Linked DNA regions of Homo sapiens: all the other regions are linked to region 1. The links are contacts of gene promoters, found by promoter capture Hi-C in blood cells and fetal thymus (Javierre and others, 2016). All regions are on one chromosome and are shown on one strand. Each heading gives the region's core, a stretch centred on a gene start or on the middle of the fragment in contact. The rest is flanking DNA. Distances are from core to core; before and after follow the strand shown. Region 1 holds the start of EIF1B (eukaryotic translation initiation factor 1B). Region 2 overlaps SCN11A (sodium voltage-gated channel alpha subunit 11). Region 3 overlaps ULK4 (unc-51 like kinase 4).

Region 1 (4,175 bases), core at 1,415-3,914:
CCTTAACCTAGGCTGGTACCATTTAGAACTAAAAATGCTAGATTTTAAATGCTTCAGTTTATTCTTTTTATGATAACTTTACACACAGGCCAAATTCTTTCACTCTAAACTAGTGCTATCTAGTAGAAATAGAGCATGAGCCACATGTAATTTTAAGTCTTTAGTAGCTACATTAAAAAGGTAAAACGAAATAGGTGAAATTAAGACAATTTAGTCTTTGGAAGCCTACTGTATATCTTCTACTTACATCACATCCCAATTTAAATCAGCTATACTGCAAGTACTCAATGGCCACATGTGGCTAGTGGTTTCTGTACTGGACACTGCAGGTCTAAACACAAAGACTATGAATCATGAGAGTTAGAAGAGCCTTAAGAACCACAACTGTATCTAATCTGTATTCATATTGGCTTTGATTAAAGATTTCTGAGCTCCTGGGGGTTTCTTTTTTCTTTCTTTTTTTTTTTTTTTCTCACTCCTGAAGGTTTCTGATGCAAACACTAAATCTAAGAAAAGTGAGTTCTCCTGACAGGGGTAATGACCATGAAACCCTAAGATTTCTGGAATTTTTCTTTTAATTTCTCTGTGTTTGTAGTTTTTTCTTCACTGGATCACCTTTGGCTTCTTCTGAGAAATAAAGTAATATAAAATACTCATGTACATCTACTAAGAAAGAAAGGAAACAAATAGAGATGCATTATCTAGATTACAAATTATTTAGAAATTAGAGTGTTAGAGTATTAACATAGGGCACAAAATTGAACTAATAAAATTACTTTAAAGCACACTTATTTAGATATTTTGATGCTCCTTGTTTTGGAGCCAGCTCTAAACTTTACACCTCAATTTGGGATACGAAGAGTGTTTTCCATTTGAACCAGAGCTGGAAGACCACAAATGTGGTTAGATTTCTGAGAGTTAAGAATTTGATTTTTTTTTCAGGCATTAACCTACAAAAGCCTTCATTTCCACACCTGGTGCATAGAGTAATGCTTACCTTATAAAATAGCTATGAAGATTAATAATGTTATATATAAGCTTTGTAACAGGCAAACAGTAAGTACTAAATAAATGGCACTTATCATCATTGTTAATTACAAAAGATTGTCAAATCCAGGTATTCTTAACCTGCGGTCTGCAGATCCTTGGCTCATGGATAAAACTGCAGGGGTGGAGATCCCTAAAATTGGATGGGGAAAGATTATATCTGCATTTTCATTAACCTCTAAGCAAAATTTACCATTTCTTTCCATTATGAATAAAGGCAACATCATAGTGATAGAAGGACCTGTCACTTCGCACCAACAGAAGTTACACATACTTTCATATTAAATTTCTGATGTTACGGACATCACAAAATATCTCTTACATTTATCAGCTTTTTGAAATTATAGTATTAGACCTAATCTTGCTAGATCTTATTAGTGTATTAATAAAGAAATACACGTTATTAATGTATTTTTTAAATTTCAATATAATTGGTTTCCTTTGTAATCCTATGTACTTTGTGAACTTAAAACTTAACTTCTCATTATTCTGAGAAGGGATTCAGCAGCTTCACAGGATTGCCATGGCACACACAAAAAAGTTAAGAATCCCTAAATTTTAGTCTATCTCTTTGCTTCCAGAAAGCCAACCAAGTTTGACAATTGAACACACCTGCCTGAGTGAGCCAATTCCCAAAGTCTCGGGTTTATTTTTCTGTGCGTGACCTGATAGGAAGATATTACGGTCTGGTACATGACTCCATCAATTAACCTATTTGCTGAGCTCACCTTCAGCTTATACCTGGCATCTTTCCTGAATTCTCTGTTGGGCCTTCTGAGGCACACAAAATGAGCTGACAAGCTGATTTTCTGGTATCTTCTGTTCATACACACCTGGCCCCCACTCGATGCCAGGCCCAGGATTAAGCTGGGCAGTGATTCTCAAGCCTGATCCCAGACCAGCAGGCAGGATCAGCATCACCAAGGAGCTTATGAGAATTGCAGATTTTCAGGTCACACCCTAGACTTCCTGAAACAGAAACTCTGGGGTCTATCAGTGTTTTCTCAAGCCCTCCAGAGACACACGCTTTAGTCTGAGATCCACCGTGCTAGGGAATCGGAGGTCCGTCCAATCCTGGAAAGAGAGGCTCCCATCTCCAGTATTGGTTGAGACTAACACCGCTCCTGCAACTGGGGTTGGAATTTCAATGCAGGTAGTTGCTGAGCGGGGGCCAATGAGTTGAAAGCCGGAGCAAGGGGACTTGTTTTGTTCCTGCACCCCGATTTTACTTACATTACCCGGGGCCTCGAGGGTGACTCATAGAGATTAGCCCTGAGCGTCGACCCCTCGGCGCCGCCACTGCACAGCGAGAGAAGGGGAGTCAAGAGAGACGCTTGAGTCCCTTGACTGTCCTCCCCTACGAGCTCTCTGGGAAGAGAGCCCCAGACCTGCGAACTCTGGGCCGCTCTGCGGCCGCTTGAACACTTCGCGGGTCTTCCGCCCCGCGCTAGAGGACGCACTCCGTGACGGGAATTGCGGTCTCGGCCGCCCCCGGCCTCAGGCTTTCCGGGCTCTGCTGCCTCCAGAAAACTACAAGTCCCAGGATGCTCGGCGCGGGACGGTCACGTGGGAGGGGCCGCGGGCGCGGCTAAATAGTCTCCATCGGCCATTTTGTGCGAGAAGCCGCAGCGCCGCCTCTTCTCTCGCGCCCTCGCCTCTTCCTCCGCCTCCTCCTTCGCCTCTTCCTGCCTCCTCCCGGCTTCCGCCGCCGCCACTCCAGCCTAATCCCAACCCCAGGGCGAAGCGTTTTCTTATTTATTTCCGTTTTCTCGCCACTACAGCCTCCTGACAAGGTGATCCGGGCGGGCCCCGCAGGAATTTTATCCCCTCACCGGCCTCACACTAGTATCGCATGTCCACTATCCAGAACCTCCAATCTTTCGGTAAGATCCCGTCGCCGCCGCCTCCCTCCCTTGCCCGGCGCGCATCTCGGCCTTTTGCCCGCCTGGCCACCGCCCCTAGGGGCCCCCTTTCTGCCCTTCCCGCACCCCTAGTGGGGCTTTGTCTCGGCGCCCAGAAAATGGCGACGGGGCCCCTGGCGACCCCTTCCCCGAGGACAGCGCCGGACTCCGAGCCCTCCTCTCGGAGCCCCGGCCGCGGGCCCTGCGCCACCCCCTGCCCCGTCCTTGACCCGGCTCTCGCCTCCGCTTCTGCCCCTTGAAACCTTGGCGATCCTATTTCGTGGACTCCTAGATCGGCCCTGCTACTTGCAAAGGGTATGCCGGGCCAGGGAAACCAGGGATCGGCGCCCGTTCTCTGGCAGCTCCTGGGGGCACTTAGGGAAAGATGCGGATGCAAGCCTCTGATCTGTCACTGGCCAGTGGTTCAGTCTTCTCTGCTTGCGTAGCAATTTGTTAAATTACGCCTCTTGATATATATGTAATCTACTTTTTTTTTGGCAAGGCACAGTTACGGTTAAATGATTAAGGTGGGCGTATTCGAATGTTTATGTTTTCATCAGAATGTAATCGAGATGACGCACATTTTTATAGCGGCTACAATATTAAGGTTTTCTAAATCTTTTTCTCATTAGAGGACCATATTGAACGATAACATTATTTATCTATAACAGCGTTTTTCTACAATGGACATAGCTGTTCAAATGTTTCTCTTTTTGTGAGAGTATCTTGGGGGTTTTATTAATACTCCACCCCCATCTCCATTCCTACCGGCAAAAACAGCAAAGGCACTAGAACCTTCATTGATGACTGTCTGGATTGGTAGTATAATGTATTTCTGGAAAGTACTTCTTAAAAAATATTTTTCTACTTTGGATTTTTTTTTTTTTTTTATCCATTCGCAGACCCCTTTGCTGATGCAACTAAGGGTGACGACTTACTCCCGGCAGGGACTGAGGATTACATTCATATAAGAATCCAGCAACGGAACGGCAGAAAGACACTGACTACTGTTCAGGGCATTGCAGATGATTATGACAAAAAGAAACTTGTGAAAGCTTTCAAAAAGGTAAAGGGATTAGGAAGAAAGGATTAGAGTTACTGATGCACACCTCTGAACTGGATTATGATTCACACCTTTATATCGGCGTGGATGAAAATAACTAGACCAAGAAAGTTGTTCTCATTTTTGTAATTAACATGTAAATATTTAGTTATTCTCCCAGTGTG
Region 2 (3,984 bases), core at 410-2,909, 1.3 Mb before region 1:
TTAAAAACCTAAATATAAAACCCAAAACTATGAAACTACTAAAAGATAATACAGGAGAAATGCTTCAGGACATTGGCCTGGGCAAAGATTTTATGGATAAGCCCTCAAAAGCACAGGCAACAAAACCAAATATAGACAAATTGGATTACATCAAACTAAAAAGCTTCTGCACAGAAAAGGAAACAATCAATAGAGGAATGAGACAGCCTACAGAATGAGAGAAAATATTTGCAAAGTATTCATCCAACAAGGAATTAATATCCAGGAAGTATAAAAAACTCAAACAACTCAATAGCAAAAAAAACCCAAATAATTTTTAAATGGGCAAATGATCTGAATACACATTTTTCAAAAGAAGACATATAAATAGCCAACAAATACATGAAAAAAATGCTCAACATCACTAATCATCAGGGAAATACAAATCAAAACCACAGTGAGATATTATCTCACTCCAGTTAGAATCGCTATACGAAAAAGACAAAAACAAATGCAGAGGGTGAGGATGCAGAGAAAAGGGAATTCATACACTGTTGATAGGAATGTAAATTAGTTCAACCATTATGGAAAACAGTGTGTAGATTTCTCAAAGAACTAAAACTACAACTACCATATGATCCAGCAATCCCACTACTACCCAAAGAACAGGAAATCAGTATGTCAAAGAGATACCTGTCCTCCCACAGTTACTGCAGCACTATTCACAGTGGCCAAGATACGGAGTTAACCTAAGTGTCCATCAAAAGAAGAATGGATAAAGAAAATGTGGTACATATATGCAATGAAATACTATTCAATCATAAAAAAGAATAAAATTATGTCATTTGCAGCAACATGGATAGCACCGGAGGTCATTATCTTAAGTGAAATAAGCCAGGCACAGAAAGATAAATACTGCATGTTCTCACCAATATGTGAAAGAGAAATAAGTTGATCTCAGAGAAGTAGAGAACAGAATAGTGGTAACTAGTGGCTGAGAAGGGTAAAGGAGAGGATTATATATAGAGAGGTTGGTTAACACATATAAAATTACAGCTAGGTAGAAGGAATAATTTTTGGTGTTCTATATCACTGTAGGATGACTATGATTAACAATAATTTATTCCATATTTTCAAATAGCTAAAAGAGTGGATATTGAATTTTCCCAAAGCAATTATTACAGATTGTATACAGGTATCAAAATATCACACTGTACCCCATATATATGTACAATTATTATGTGTCAATTAAAAAATACATCCACAAATTTATTGATACTTCATAAAAAAAGGAGTCATCTAATCCCCTCTCCTTAGACACTGATGGCCTTAGTAACTAAGTTCTAATGAATTGACTATGGCTTAAAGTGACACTGCATGACTTCCACTGTGAGTTTAGAAAAAGCATTATAGCTTTCAACCAGATTTTTCTTCTTCGGGATGCTCATCCTTGGAACCCAGTTAGCATATTGTGAGGAACCAAATAGTGCTGTGGAAAGATCATGAGAAGGTGTTCTAGCCACAGCTTTGGCTAAGGACTAGGCCAACACCAGTATCAGTCACCAGACATGTGAGAGAAGGGGTCTTCAGATGATTCCAGCCCCAATCTTTTAGCTGCCCCAGCTGATGTGAAGTGGATAGTGGAACAGAGACAATCTGTTCCCATGAAGCTCTGCATAAATTACAGATTTGTAAGTAAAGTAAGGGTTGTAATTGTTTTAAACCATTGCATTTTGCAGATGGTTAAACAGCAATAGATAAAAGGAACAGGAAAAAAGAGTGCTGAATATTGGACAGTAGTTCAGAGCATATACTGCATCCTACAGGACAGTATCAAAAAGGGTTATCTCCCAGAAGGCACCATAGCTAAGTCTTCAATATATCTTCAATAAGACAAGATACTTCTCAGTGATTGAGTACACAATTAGACCAATAAATTCCATGGGCAATAGCCCATTGCATTACTTCTTTCATTGCAGAGTGAATTTCTTGGTCAAAAGCAATATAGTGTTAGAGAAAATGATAGTGTCTAAAGCACTGAGTAATTCCCTAGATGGTGGTGTCAGCGGAAGTACAGTGAGCAGGGAAAGCAAATCTCAATCTAGAATAAACATATTTTAGAGAGGACAAATAAGAACTCCCTCAATGATGGGGAGGGCCAATGACCAATGGAATAGACTTGCCTACATGTGACTGGCTGACCCTCCCAGAGCATGGGGTATTGGTCACTGCTTCTGAACACCCAGCGGTGGCTTGGTGATCCCATGCATAGCTCCAATCCTGTTGCCATTGCCATTGCCATTTATTTCATGATTCTACTGAGCAGGCAGTGAGGCTGAGTTTCATCACAAAGCAGTTCATTTCATCCATATGATTCTTAAGATTTATTCTGAGAGGTCCATCACTATATCCCTTCTGGAGTCTTCCTTGTCACTAGTTCTCCAGTCTTGCTCTTTCCATGTCCTTCACAAACTGGCCAAAAAATTATCCTCTGACCCTGAATTGACCATTTCTCCTTTCAGCCAAACTGAACATCAAAACATACTGGTGAAAATTCTGCCCACTGAAAGAACTTCACTATTTCAATATTTTTCAGGTCCAAAGCAGGACTACAACATATCAATTTCTAGCAAGTACCAGTATATTGTCCAGAGCAACATACCTGTATTGTATTTTGCACATCATAGGTGCTCAATAGACACTTAAGCAATTTTTAAAATACAGACATATTATTTCCCTACCTGTATTTCAACAGCTTCCCATTGGTCTAAAAGATCCTGCTGGGTATGGCCTCTGCATACTCCTTTCACTTCTCTGTACTCTAAGCCTTGACTCTCAGTTCCTGTAATGTTCCATGCTCTCTCCTGCTACAAGACCTTTGCTCAGACTGTTCCCTCTCCTTGCCTAGTTAACTCTTGACTCAAGATACTTCCTGTCTTACAATCATCTTTCTTCATAGTACTTATCTCTGTATTAATTCCTGTCTCATCCTGGGACTCTAAGTTCTATGACTATGTGCACTCACCACTGATTCCCCAACACCTAATATAGTGCCTGGCATATATGATATGCTAAATAATATTTTGTTAAATGAATGAATACATGAATCAGTGAATGAATAAGCCTGTAATGATGCAGTAATTTACCTATAAGTTATCACTGCCAGTTTTGCTTAAGAAGCTTTCTGCCATCACAATTTTTACTCATCTAATTCACATTTCTTTATTAATTTAAGAAGTATTTGTCAAGACAACTTTTCTAAGCATTACTTATATACTAGCACTATGCAACAGAAATTTGTGACCACATATGTAATTTTAAATATTCTAATATCCATGACAAAATTAATAAATTTTATTTAGCCTAATATACCCCCAAACATCATTTCAACATGAAATCAATACAAAAAATTATTAATGAGATATTTTACATTCTTTTCTTCAAACTAGTCTTTGAAATTTGGGGGTAGTTTACAATTACATATCTCAACTGGAACTAGCTATATTTCAAGTGCTCAAGAGCCACAAATGACTAGCAGATACATCATATGCTATATCCCACAGTGTAGTTCTATAGGATTCACTTTCACTAGAGAGGGTCTGATCACCCTCAGCTCTTATAATTAGTGGTCAGGAAAACCACCTTAAGTCAAACCTAACTGTTCCAGTATAAGAGATGATTTAAACTAGAATTGTCTCTGGGAACAATTTTAGCTGGTGTACCGTTTTCGCCTTCCTATAACATCTTTTTGTCTTGTTTTTTTTTTTTAAACTTTTAAGTTCAGGGGTACAAGTGCAGGTTTGTTATATAGGTAAACTTGTGTCACGGGTGTTTGTTGTACAGGCTATTTTGTCACCCAGGTATTAAGCCTAGTACCCATTAGTTATTTTTCCTGATCCTCGCCCTCCTCCCACCCTCCACCCTCCGAAAGGCCCCAGTGTGTGTTGTCCCCCTCTTTTGTGTCCATGTGTTCTCATCATTTAGCTCCCACTTATAAGTGAGAAC
Region 3 (4,186 bases), core at 574-3,073, 1.6 Mb after region 1:
TCAATAAACAAGAGAAAGTGAGAAAGCAAAAGAAAATTTAAAAGAAAAGTCAAGAGAGACAAACTCCCACACCCATCCTGTAGGGGTTTCAGGAACAGAAAAAGGATGAAATAGGAAGAAATCTAAGAAATAATATAAAAGCTAAAGGAGGGATGAAGAGGCTAGGCATCGTGGCTCACACCTGTAATCCCGGCACTTTGGGAGGCCAAGGCAGGTGGATCACTTGAGGTCAGGAGTTTGAGACCAGCCTGGCCAACATGGTGAAAACCCATCTCTACTAAAAATACAAAAATTAGCTGGGCATGGTGGTGCACACCTGTAATCCCAGCTACTCGGGAGGCTGAGGCAGGAGAATCCTTGAACCCGGGAGGTGGAGGTTGCAGTGAGCCAAGATCGCGCCACTGCACTCCAGCCTGGGCGACAGAGCAAGACTCTGTCTCAAAATAAACAGAAAGAAAAGAAGGGAAGGAAGGGACAGGAGGGACGGGAGGGAAGGAAGGGACAGGAGGGACGGGAGGGACGGGAGGGACGGGAGGGACAGGAGGGACAGGAGGGACGGGATGGGGGAAGGAAGGGATGGGAGGGGGGAAGGAAGGGACGGAAGGGGGGAAGGAAGGGATGCGGGGAAGAAAGGGACAGAAGGGGGAAGGAAGGGACGGGAGGGGGAAAGAAGGGACGGGAGGGGGAAAGAAGGGACGGGAGCGGGGAAAGAAGGGACGGGAGGGGGAAAGAAGGGACGGGAGGGGGAAAGAAGGGACGGGAGGGGGAAAGAAGGGACGGGAGGGGGAAAGAAGGGACGGGAGGGGGAAAGAAGGGACGGGAGGGGGGAAGGAAGGGACGGGAGGGGGAAAGAAGGGACGGGAGGGGGGAAGGAAGGGACGGGAGCGGGGAAGGAAGGGACGGGAGCGGGGAAGGAAGGGACGGGAGGGGGAAGGAAGGGACAGGAGGGGGAAAGAAGGGATGGGAGCGGGGAAAGAAGGGACGGGAGGGGGAAGGAAGGGACGGGAGCGGGGAAGGAAGGGACGGGAGCGGGGAAGGAAGGGACGGGAGCGGGGAAGGAAGGGACGGGAGCGGGGAAGGAAGGGACGGGACAAGACGGGACTGGAGGGAGGGAGGGAGGGAGGGAGGCAGGCAGGCAGGCAGGAAGGAGCAAATTAGTAAAAAGAGATTCCTAGAGACAATCTAGTAAAATTTACAGGCCTGAAATGAAAAGAAAAGCTAACTCAAACAAGTCACACAGAAGAGGGAAAAAAAAAAAAAAGGTAAGGTTTACCCACAAGTCCTACAGAACTACAGTTAGTACAAGGAAGAGAGCTCAAACTCCAAAGCATGGCACAGAGGTAAGCCACTGAGAGGCCTTCTTGAAAACAAACAAAAAATACTAACAGCCAGGCGCGGTGGCTCATGCCTATAATCCCAGCACTTTGGGAGGCCAGAGCAGGTGGATCACCTGAGATCAGGAGTTGGAGACCATCTGGCCAACACGGTAAAACCTCATCTCTACAAAAATACAAAAATTAGCCGGGCATGATGGCAGGTGCCTATAATCCCAGCTACTCGGGAGGCTGAAGCAGAAGAATCACTTGAACCCGGGAGGCAGAGGTTGCAGTGAGCTGAGATTGTGCCACTGCACTCCAGCCTGAGTGACTGAGCGAGACTCCGTCTCAAACAAACAAAAAAAAACCTACCAAATGATAAAATCTAATCAACCAAGAGAAGAACTACAGCAAAGAAACAGGAAAACTATGTTTTTAATTAAAAAATTTATGATGGATGAGCATTTACTTTACCTTATTCAAGTATAAAACTCTTATTTGAAAAATAGAAAAATTCCTCCTAAATTCATATCTCAAAAAGGCACTTGCCACAGTAAAAAGCAACCTATGTAATGAGAGAAGATATTTGCAATCATTTATCTGACAAGGGGTTAATATCTAGAATATATAAAAAATACCTACAACTCAACAACATAAAACTCAGTTCAAAAATTGGCAAATGACTTGACTAGATCTTTCTCCAAAGAAGATATACAAATAGCCAACAATCACACGAAAAGATGTTCAACATCACTAGTCACAAAATACAAATCAAAACTGTAAGATACTACTTCACACCCATCAGGATAGCTGTTAGCAAAAAACAAAAACAGAAAACACTAATGTTCACAGCAGCATTGTTCACAATAGCCAAAAGATATAAACAAGCCAGTGCCCAACAACAGATGAAAAGATAAACAAAATGTAGTATATGCATACAACGGAATATTATTCAGCCTTAAAAAGGAATGAAATGCTGACACATGTTAGTTATAACATGGATGAACCTTGCAAATGAAACCAGCCCAATTGTCCTATAGAACTGATGTTTACAGTCTTTTAAAATAAACGTAGAAATTGACCCTCCCAGTCTTAAAACTTGAGGAAGTTACATTTGTCTTATCTGAGTTCCTTTCTTGGGAAACCAACCATCAGGCCTCCCAGATAGTTATCAAGGAACTGAAACTTACCAAATCACCATATCTGGACCATAAGACACCAGACCCCCTCACCCATTACAATTGCCTAACCAACTACCTGCTTCCTGTTGACCAATTCCTCTTCCTCACCCTTCCTTGATTCCTGTTTTCCCATACATGGTTATATTTCTTCCCTGCTAAATACATCCCTGGTTTTAGTCAGTTGAGGAGACAAATTTGAGACTGATCTCCCATCTCCTTAGCTGCAGCACCCAATTGAAGCCTTCTTCCCTAGCAACACTCATTGTCTCCGTGATTGGCTTTCTGTGCTGTGAGCAACAGGACTTAAACCAAACCCCTTGATATTTCAGTAGCAATATGAGGTACTCACCATAAGCAAATTCACAAAGATAGAATAAGTAGAGTATAGGTTACCAGGACTGGGGAAGGAAAGGGGAAGTTACTGTTTAATGGGTAAAGAGCTTCTGTTTAAGATGATGAAAAAGTTTTGGAAATGAATAGTGGTGATGGTTATACAACAATGAGAATGAACTAAATGCCATTATATACATAAAAATGGCTAAAATGGAATATTTTAAATTATGCATAATTTACAATTAACAAATTTTTTAAATTACAGTATTACACTATTACTATATGTGAATTATACCTCAAAGTTGACTGGCAAGGATAAAAGGATATACAATTTGATAAATACTCAATGTTGGAAGTTCTAACAAAAGGCATTTTAAACACATTGACTGGGATTATATATTGATACAATTTTTTTAAGAGTATTTCAGCAATTTTTCAGAAGTCACAAAAATATTTACTGCCTTCTATCCATCTGTTCTAATTCTACAAATCTTCCCTAAAGAGAAAAAGAAAAAGCAGGCACAAAGATTTATTCTCAAAAATGTTCATCAAAATATTATTTACAACATTATAATACTATCCAAAAATAGTAAATAAAATGATCAGATATTCACAACATATAAAAAGTTTATCTTAAGTATTATGTATTTTATTTTTAAATGTTAATAATAACATTTACAATACGTAATATATATGTTACAGGGGAAAACAAACATAAAATTATATCATGTGATTCTAATTTTTTATATACAAAACAAAACTAAAGAATAAATATATCTACGTCAATAATAATTATCTCCCAGACTAAGTTAAGGACCCTTTATCATATGCTGTCAAGGTAATATAACCTGAGGTCAGAGAAAACGTCGCTGGAAGTGGCTTTGAATGGAGAAAGAATAAAAGAGGATTCCTACCAGAGAACTTGTCTACCTCAGTATCACTTTATTCAAATTAAAACTGTTTTACAATCAAACTTCAATTTTTAAAAGTGGGGGAAAAAAACAGTATGTGTGAATTTTGGTATCCAAGGGGATACTAAAACCAATCTCCGGGCTGATACAGAAGGATGACTGTACTTGGAAATGATCTGGAATGTCTGTTTTAAAATGTCAGCAGGGGGCACCCCATTCAAGGATATAACACATTTTAAATAAAGGTGTTTAAATAAGTATTTCATTGATTCATTTTTAATGAGCATACCATGAGCCTTCTCAAAGTATTAAATACTCAACCATTACCTAAAAATCCTACTTTTTATTACCAGATTTTACTTTGGGAGAGTAACATTAGAAGATGTATAGTAAGAACTACCCTTATTATTAAGCATTTTCTAAACTTCTATTGGTTCACCCATAT

The links. The method cuts DNA at HindIII sites, captures the fragments that hold promoters and counts their contacts. A CHiCAGO score of 5 or more calls a contact.
Region 2: a fragment that was not itself captured here is called in contact with the fragment with the promoter of EIF1B in region 1 in 3 of 17 cell types (naive CD8 T cells, non-activated CD4 T cells and total CD8 T cells); the score reaches 8.1 in naive CD8 T cells.
Region 3: a fragment that was not itself captured here is called in contact with the fragment with the promoter of EIF1B in region 1 in 14 of 17 cell types (total CD4 T cells, naive CD4 T cells, monocytes and 11 more); the score reaches 21.4 in total CD4 T cells.

Annotation. Positions count from the first base shown.
Region 1 is chr3:40,307,043-40,311,217 of GRCh38, forward strand. EIF1B (eukaryotic translation initiation factor 1B) reads left to right here and starts at 2,665. Exons shown (of 4, transcript NM_005875.3): 1 at 2,665-2,930; 2 at 3,851-4,014. The coding sequence starts at 2,900. EIF1B-AS1 (EIF1B antisense RNA 1) reads right to left here and starts at 2,656. Exons shown (of 3, transcript NR_033965.1): 1 at 2,281-2,656. It overlaps LOC124906228 (a long non-coding RNA gene), which reads right to left and starts at 1,769. Exons shown (of 2, transcript XR_007095876.1): 1 at 1-1,769. RefSeq lists an enhancer at 2,396-2,755 and a silencer at 3,026-3,075. The HindIII fragment of the contact is 2,965 bases long and covers 1,037-4,001 here.
Region 2 is chr3:39,047,386-39,051,369 of GRCh38, forward strand. The region is part of intron 1 of SCN11A (sodium voltage-gated channel alpha subunit 11); the gene reads right to left. Among named protein-coding and RNA genes, the nearest start is that of SCN11A, 2.6 kb to the right of the region's middle. RefSeq lists an enhancer at 3,792-3,984. The HindIII fragment of the contact is 2,996 bases long and covers 162-3,157 here.
Region 3 is chr3:41,890,239-41,894,424 of GRCh38, forward strand. All of the region lies in intron 16 of ULK4 (unc-51 like kinase 4), which reads right to left. Among named protein-coding and RNA genes, the nearest start is that of ULK4, 70 kb to the right of the region's middle. The HindIII fragment of the contact is 4,938 bases long and covers 1-4,186 here.